Linked DNA regions of Homo sapiens: all the other regions are linked to region 2. The links are contacts of gene promoters, found by promoter capture Hi-C in blood cells and fetal thymus (Javierre and others, 2016). All regions are on one chromosome and are shown on one strand. Each heading gives the region's core, a stretch centred on a gene start or on the middle of the fragment in contact. The rest is flanking DNA. Distances are from core to core; before and after follow the strand shown. Region 1 overlaps MBTPS1 (membrane bound transcription factor peptidase, site 1). Region 2 holds the start of USP10 (ubiquitin specific peptidase 10). Region 3 holds the start of MBTPS1 (membrane bound transcription factor peptidase, site 1).

The links. The method cuts DNA at HindIII sites, captures the fragments that hold promoters and counts their contacts. A CHiCAGO score of 5 or more calls a contact.
Region 1: a contact is called between a fragment that was not itself captured here and the fragment with the promoter of USP10 in region 2, in 1 of 17 cell types (fetal thymus). The highest score is 5.5, in fetal thymus.
Region 3: the fragment with the promoter of MBTPS1 here is called in contact with the fragment with the promoter of USP10 in region 2 in 4 of 17 cell types (total CD4 T cells, non-activated CD4 T cells, naive CD8 T cells and 1 more); the score reaches 7.8 in total CD4 T cells.

Annotation. Positions count from the first base shown.
Region 1 is chr16:84,085,740-84,088,439 of GRCh38, forward strand. It overlaps MBTPS1 (membrane bound transcription factor peptidase, site 1), which reads right to left. Exons shown (of 23, transcript NM_003791.4): 9 at 1,619-1,721. Among named protein-coding and RNA genes, the nearest start is that of MBTPS1, 30 kb to the right of the region's middle. The HindIII fragment of the contact is 2,176 bases long and covers 271-2,446 here.
Region 2 is chr16:84,698,701-84,701,400 of GRCh38, forward strand. USP10 (ubiquitin specific peptidase 10) reads left to right here and starts at 1,300. Exons shown (of 14, transcript NM_005153.3): 1 at 1,300-1,411. The coding sequence starts at 1,391. RefSeq lists silencers at 772-1,291, 1,382-1,601, 1,612-1,721, 1,762-1,871. The HindIII fragment of the contact is 5,859 bases long and covers 1-2,100 here.
Region 3 is chr16:84,115,681-84,118,380 of GRCh38, forward strand. It overlaps MBTPS1 (membrane bound transcription factor peptidase, site 1), which reads right to left and starts at 1,262. Exons shown (of 23, transcript NM_003791.4): 1 at 1,055-1,262. MBTPS1-DT (MBTPS1 divergent transcript) reads left to right here and starts at 1,363. Exons shown (of 1, transcript NR_186375.1): 1 at 1,363-2,700. RefSeq lists silencers at 753-1,182, 1,583-1,682 and an enhancer at 1,833-1,992. The HindIII fragment of the contact is 14,847 bases long and covers 1-1,875 here.

The DNA.
Region 1 (2,700 bases), core at 109-2,608, 610 kb before region 2:
ATGCCAGACTGGAAAGTGGACACTGGCTTATCACCAAGACCAGAAACTGGAAACTGCTTTATCTCTAGATAAGTTAAAATTAGAAATATGTTAGAAAAATTAGAAAATTAAAATGTAAAAAAACCCAAACATGTTTCTTTACAAGGAAAAAAGTACACGGTATGAGTGGATGTTTCAAACGGTTGTAAAAGAGGAAATAAGAAACCACTGAGAAGGAACAAGATAACCACACGACTAACTTGGGATAACGTTTTAATAAGTACTTGCTTAAGCTTCTTAAGAATTGGGGCAAAACGAAAATTAGAATAGGATCTCATATTCTGTCAGAAAACAGGAGCCCAATTTGAAGGGAAGCCCTTTTCTGACCATCAAACCCAAGGACCATGGATGCACATACTGGGATACCGAGTAAAGGCATCCTCCACTGCAGCTGTGATGATGGAAGGACATTTCTCAAATGCCATTAAAAAGCTGGCTGGTGATGAAGGCCATGGACGTGACATCTCATCACGGTTTGGTGAAAGCGTTTACACGGGGAGCTGGGGACAAAGTGGATGACATCTCACCACAGTTCGGTGAGAGCATTTACACAGGGAGCTGGGGACAAAGTGGTGGATGCAGTTTCCCATTATCCGGCAGCACAAGGAACATGCTGAGGGAGCGTGGATGGGAGGACACGCAGCCTGCCCTGCACAGACTGTCACATGAGAGAATGGTCCCCAGCCAACAGGTCAGCTCCAGGAAGAGGCACGTGAGTGTGGGAGGCGGGGACCCCTGGTGGGGCTGAGTGGCGGGGACGCTGGGGGCTGACGCTGTCACAGGACAAAGGCTCAGGCAGAAGGCTATCCTGTAAAGTGGCTACAGTGTGGACGAGGCCCACAGTGTTCCCAGGCAGTTGGGAATCTTTCCAGGGACTTATCTGAGGCCTCCGAGTGTGGCATGTGACGTTAAACACCAAGAGATGCTCTGACCCTGAAGAATGAGAAGGGCAGATGCTCCCCTCGGCCACAGCGAGGGCAAAGGTGCCCAACTGCTGTTCTGCACGAGCGTCTAATTTTTCATCAAACTTTGACAGGTAAAGGTGGGTGAATGTGCTGCATAATTAAACCCCAAACAGCTGAATTATTAACTGTAGCAGTTATTTTGAATTTGTCCAGCTAAATACAATTGTTTCTGTGTTAGCAGAGTTGATATTAAGCTGTTCTCAATGGTTTCTCCAACTTCTTAAGGCTCCCCTCCCCCAAAAAATATCATCTCACCTACCACTGAGGAGGACTGCTTACCACTACTAGATAGGGTAAACGGGCAGGAACCCAATTCACCTAAAGGTGAGTTCCTCAGAAATCAATTAATAAGTTAAACTGGGAAACACCGCTTAGAATCAGCCGGTGCTCATCACAGCAGCTGTGGACTTGCCAGAGTGAAGTGGCAGATGCTGACGGGGCCCAGATCTCTCGTCCTCACGGCTGGGCAGGCACTCACAGCCCCGGCTATTCCCATGTGAATGTGAGGGTGTCTGTGCACTTACAAATACACCCCAAGGCTCGTCAACAACCGGTGCCACTAGCCACAGTAGTTTGTCCAGCTAAATACAATTATTTAGCAAAGAAGAGCGTACCCAGGTAGTCATTCCCCTTGAAGAAAAGCGGGCGATGTTATCTTCAAAGTCAATGCCGCCTACTCCAATCACATCCATTTGATCAGCAGGGTTATTCAGAGTGCTATATTGAGACCAAAAAAAAAAAAAAAGAAAAGAAAAAGAAAAAAACAAGAGAAATAATTTAAAATGGATGATTCAAACCAGGGCGAATACTCCCAGAACAATCTAACACTGTATGAGCTGCTTCTGTGGGAAGACGTGTGCAGCTCCTCACGGCTGTCCTGTGAAACGCATGATCCTGCCACGTTCATGCTGTGCTCACATTACGCCCTCTCACCTGCAACGCCCCTCCTTTCTTCTCCTCCCTGTCAACTTGGCACACTGGGGCTCAAGGCTCACGTTTTCCCTCCAGCAATCCAAGCCTTAAGCATCTGTACTTGCCTTGAACCTCACAACACTTAACACAATCACAATTTATCACCTAACGACACATTCTCACATCACTTTCAAATTGTTCCCAGCACATTCATCTTAACTCCCCAGCTAAATCACACACTTCTCCTGGAAGAAACCATAACCACACATTTACATCTGCCAAGGTCAGGAAGTGGTAAGTTTTCGATTGACCTGTGGTGGTGTTCTACCCTCCTCATAGGGAACTGTAGAAGGACTATCATTACTCTGTAATCTTGAGCTCCTTAGAGTCTCTCCAATACCTTAAGTGCACTAGATCTGCAAAGAAATTATAGTGAAATAAATAATGGCAAAAATGTGTAAACCGTAAAGTCAAGATAAAGATGAACCATTTGAAAATATGAGACACTCAGTTATAAAACTGCATTGCTAAGCTTTATTATGGCTCCACTACCAAAAAAAATGAACTCTTTGACAAATCAACAACTACATACAACTGATTCCAAGTGGCTTAAGAGATAATAGCAGCATGAAGTTCTCCTTCTAGAGTGTGTTTTTAACTGACAATTCCCAACACACCGAGAAAAAGTGGTACTGCCTCCTCAGCCCACTGGCCACCAATATCCTACCAGCTGGTCATTCAGAGGAACGAATAATGATTTTCTGATGACTGATGCTAGATGTTT
Region 2 (2,700 bases), core at 50-2,549:
TCCTCCCACCTCAGCCTCCTGAGTAGCTGGGACGCCTGGTGTGCCACACTACATCCCACCAATTTTTGTATTTTTAGTAGAGTTGGGGTTTCATCATATTAGCCAGGCTGGTCTCCAACTCCTGACTTCAAGTGATCCGCCCGCCTCGGCCTCCCAATGTGTGGGATTCCGGGTGTGAGCCGCTGCGCCTGGCCCACTTATATTTTTCATGGCATCCCATTTATGAAGAGACCAGGCTCCCTATTTTATGTAACGTGGGAATGGATCTTCCTGTTCATCTCCTCTGCTCAGTGTACGGTCTAGCAAGAGCAGACTCTCTGTAGGTGTTTGTTGAATAAATGAAACCAATAGTAATGGTTATTAATAACAATCCCAGTAGCCAATTTTTATTGACTATTCTCTTGGCCAGTGTGCTCACGTTAATCTAATTTGAACCTCACAGAAATCTTACGCGTTATGACATATTTGTCTTATTCACAGGTGAGGAAACCAAGGCTTAGGGAAGGAAAGTCGCTTGTCTGAAATCACAGCTAGAAAAGGGGCCAAAACCCAAGGGTGGACCCACTGGCTGGAAAACAGTGCAGTTAGGCAGGGGCCCCTGTTTCTTAATAATGAATGAACCAACGACCCCCAAGGCTGGTTTGCCCGTGCACACGCACGCACGTGTGCAACACGTAGCACTTGCTGAGTGTTTGCTACTTGCCAGGCCTCATGTCAAGCACTTTACGCGTGCTTTTATGCCCTACGTTTTGTTTTTGTCTGTTTTGCTTTTTTCCCCTAATGCCTAGCCAAAGGCGTGGCCCAGGCGCCCAGGCAGGACTTGGGGAGTGAATGAAGAGTGAACAAATGAATGAATGCGCGGCAACGGGATCTTCATAAACCAGACCCTCCTCGGGGATCTAATGCGAACACTCCCGAGGCCCGGGCCCAGGTACGCTGAGGGCGGCTCGTGGGCCCCAGGCCGACCTCAGCCCGCGACTCCCGGGCTCCGGGGGCCCAGGTGGCCCCCAGTAGGTGAGGAGCCGGGCCCGCCGGCGCCTTGGCGTTGCCACCTCTACCTGCCTGCCCTCTCCCCTTCCGGATCCACAGCCAGGCCTCGGCGGGCTCCTGGTGTGCAGCCGCCCGGCCGCTTCCGCCCGAGGGTCGCGGGGCTCAGAGTCCGGCAGGCTCCAGGCGGGGCAGGGGATGTCCGCGGCCCGGCAGGCGCACGCCCACCTGTCGGCCGCGCAGGCGCAGCAGCGGGCCGGCCTCCCCGCGCCCCGCGGCGCGCGGCCAGTGCGCAGGCGCGGCGGCCGATGCGAGTGTGTATGTGCGGGCGAGAAGATGGCGGCGGCGGGGGAAGCAGCGTGAGCAGCCGGAGGATCGCGGAGTCCCAATGAAACGGGCAGCCATGGCCCTCCACAGCCCGCAGGTAGCCGCCGGTCTGCGCCTTCGGCCGGAAGGGGCCCGAGCCCCGGGCGGGCGGACGCCGCGGCGGGCGGGCGTCCGCGCCCTGCCCGGAGCGAGCGTGTGGGAGTGGGGGAGGGCGCTGGGACACGCTGCCCGGGCCTAGGCCGGAGCCACCCGCCGCCTCCGCGCCCGCCGCGCCTTCGTCCCCTGAGCCACCCGGACCCCCTAGTCCCGGGGAGGTCGAAGGGCGGGGGCTCCGGGCCCCGCTTGGGGAGGGCGTGGAGGGCGCCGAAGGGGTTAACCTCCCTGGGGCTGGACCGCGGGGCGAGCCCGGGGTGTGGAGTGGGGCCCTCCCCGCCGCGCCGGCCGGGGGAGGCGGCCCGGGGGCTCCGGGAGTCCCCTGGAGCGCAGGGGCCCCAGAGCAGCTCAGGTTGCTGCCTCTGCCTGGAGCGAGCCTCAGAGATTTGGGGGTGCCCTGTTGCCCCTTTGCCCCAAGAGCTTCCTTTCTCAGCTTGATTGATGATGCGGGGGTTGCCGATTTTCTGTTTTTTAGATAGAAGTAGCAGAGTAGCGGCCTTGGGCTGCTGTTGCAAAGAAAACTCGAAATAAGTCGCAAGGACCGTACTTTCACTTGCGTTTGAGTGACATCCCTTGCACGAATCCATCCCAGCCAGGCTGACAACTAACGCACCCTGCCTGAACAGTAGCTAAAGCTTGGGGGCCCTTTACAATAATCCCGTGGTGGAAAGAAAGAGCTCTTTTTGGGAGATGTGCGTGTAGAGTTAAGCTCTTATTCCCCTCTCCCACCCCTTCTCTCACATCTTCTCCCCCCTCCGCCATTATAATTATTCTGGACAAAAATCGGCATGATGTATTATTTGTCAGCCTTGCTTTAGACTGCTAATTTGTTGACATCTGGTCCCTATAAATTGTTGCACACTTTTAAACCATCTCATTGTGTATTTGTATTAAATATGGGGAAATGAAACAAAGTAGCCATTCGGGAAACTGATTGCGAGTAAAATCATAACCCTTCATGAGCAATTGGGTTTTGTTGCCCTTCTGCAGATGAAGTCAATCTGACTACACCTCTTTTGAAACATGATTTTCGGAACTATTGTAATGAATGCGTGTTGTGGAATCTAAAATGCGAAAACTTTTTAAAAAATTAGATCTTACGACAAGCTTCAATTTTGTTAAATTAGCTGTAGTTTAGTTTGCATCAGAATTTCCCCCTTTAACGTTTTGTTCCCTTATTCATTTACTTTTGTAAGTAGTGTAGGTCTTTGCGCCAAAAAAGGGATCAGTAGT
Region 3 (2,700 bases), core at 12-2,511, 580 kb before region 2:
AAATCTAGAAAGACAAAGTAGATGAAAGGTTGCCTGTGGCGGGGCCTGGAAATGGGCATTGACTACAACTGGGCATCAGAGGTCTTGGGGTAACGGAAATGTTCTAAAAGTGGATTTGGTAGTGGCTGTGCTGCTGTAAATTTACTAAAAACCACTGAATAGTACACTTAAAACAGGTGGATTTTATGGTATGTAAATTCTACTTCAATGAAGCTCTTACATTAAAAAATAAGTATAAATAATAAAAGCGGATTCTCCAGATTGAAAAAAAAAAAAATGAGAGGAATTACTTCTCTTCTGCAAGCCCTCCTTTTCGTAGACATACAATTGGAGACCTTGACGTTAGGAGGGCTTACCTACACAGTTCAGACTAAAGGATGAGTCTCCAGAATTCAACGCAGGTCGTATTCCACTCCACGTAATTTCGAAGTGTCAATCAGAATCTAATAACTTAATTTGTGTAGACAAATAGGCCAAGATTCTCAGGGGCTCAACCCAATATGAAAGGTAAACATCTTAATAAAAATACTGACGATCCACAACGGTCTTAGGTAGCGCAACCATGCCAAGGCGAGGCAAGATTTTTAAGAAGCTACAGGTTTAAAAGGCAATCTGGTTCTGAGAGTTCGCCGAACAGAATCCCCGCATTTCCAAAAACCAGCAGCGCAATATGCACAGACCGAGATAAGGCAAAGAATCGACGTCTTTTAAACCTGACGCCAGCACTGCCCCGGAAGCGCACCTAGAATTGAGTCTGTCTGGAGGCTCCGGGCCAGAGCAGGGCGTATTGTTTCACTCGGTGAATGCTCATTTCACGTAAAGAAAACCAGGCAACGGAACAAGCTGCCGGAGCGCGCAGACCCCCGCAGGGCCGCGGTACAGGCACGCTGTGTCCAAACAAGCGCCGGAGGCCCCGCGCCCACCTCCCCCGACCCGGCCCGGCCCCCGCAGCCCTCGCCTCGGGGCCTCGGACGCAACCGGCACACCTGAGCGAGCGGGCCGCCGCCGCTAGGCGGAGCGGGTCGGGGAGGCCGCGCGCGGGCGGCTGACGTACCTGCGCCGCCGGGAGCTCAGGGCCGGCGGGCCCGGGATAACGGCGCCTCCGCGGCGAACACGCCTGGGCACTCCATTCGGGGCTGTTTACTCCCAACTCTCGCGAGACTGGGCGACCGGGCCAGCGAGGCCCACAGCTGGGAGCCTCAGCTCCGCCGACCCAGCGTGCCCTGTCTGTCCCGCGCTCCCGGGGCTTGCGTGCGCGCTCTGGACGCCGTGGGCAGCGGGACCACGCCGGGAGGATGGACGAAGGTCTCGCGACATTTGCGGCGGCGGGGGCCGGTGGCAGGGTGGAAGCGGAGGGGCGTGGCCAGCGAGCTGCCAGGCGGCGAGAACGCGCTGGGGGAACCCTTGGTCCGCTCTGCGCGTCGCTCTAGGATCCCCGAAAAGGAGCACGGGCGCGAAAGCGGCCAGGCTGGGCCAGGATCTAGAAAGACTGCCTGGCGCAGGCTCCCTGCCCCCGCGGGCCTGCTGTCATGGACTCGTGGAGAGCTCGCTTCCCGCGCGGACCCTTCCTGCAGGGGTCCACGTCCAGGCACCGGCGGCTCGGACACCCCACCCCCGGCCGGGCACCTGCCCTGGGTGCCCCTTAACCCGGGCGGTAGCTCGTTAAGATGGCGAAGTGTCCGGTCCGGAACACGCGAAACCCCAAATCCCGCCTGCCCGACCTCCTGACCCCCGGCCCCACGGGACGACAGACTGGGCCTCCCGACGCGCAGCGCGCTGCCGGGACACCGGTGCGTGCGAAACGGAGGACCTTTGTAACGCCACGTGTTTGCTCTTTTTGAAAAAACAAGAATAAATGTGTTAAACTGTCTGAAAAGCTTGCCGCCTAAAAGATGTCTGGGTGACTTAGATGCTAGGATCAGTTTGTTTTCAATGTAAATGGACCAGCCCGGACTCCGTACGGCACTAGCAGGGGACTGAAAGCGTCTTCAGGTACTGCTGGTGGGCGGTGATGCGCTACAGGCCGATCAGACAGTTTTGTGTCTTTTGGAACTTGACACTGCACCACGGTAATGCTGAACTGCACCAATATTACAGATCACAGCGCATCATCTTCCTTCAACATGATTTAACACAGTTGACTTAATATGGTGGATAAATGTAGAATCACAAATTACCATACCCCACCTCAGGCTTCTACTTCGTAATTTTGAGCAGGTTGTTTAACCTCTTTGTACCTCAGCTTCTTCATTACAAAAATAGGGGTACTAGCCAGGCGGGGTGGCTCGCGCCTGTAATCCCAGCACTTGGGGAGGCCGAGGCAGCCGGATCACTTGAGGTCAGAAGTTTCAGACCAGCCTGGTCAACATGGGTGAAACGCCGGCTCTACCAAAAATATAAAAACTTAGCTGAGTGTGGTAGCGCATGACTGTAATCCCAGCAACTCAGGAGGCTGAGGCAGAGAATCGCTTGAACCTGGGAGGCGGAGGTTGCAGTGAGCTGAGATCGTACCACTGCACTCCAGCTTGGGCGACAGAGCGAGACTCTGCCTTAAAAATAAATAAATAATTTTTTTAAAAAATAGGGGTACTAATATCTACCTTAAAGGATGAGGGTTAAATTAAGTACACACATAAGCCCTAGCGCAGTGGCTTATGCCTGTAATCTCAACACTTTGGGAGTCTGTGGCGGGAGGATCAC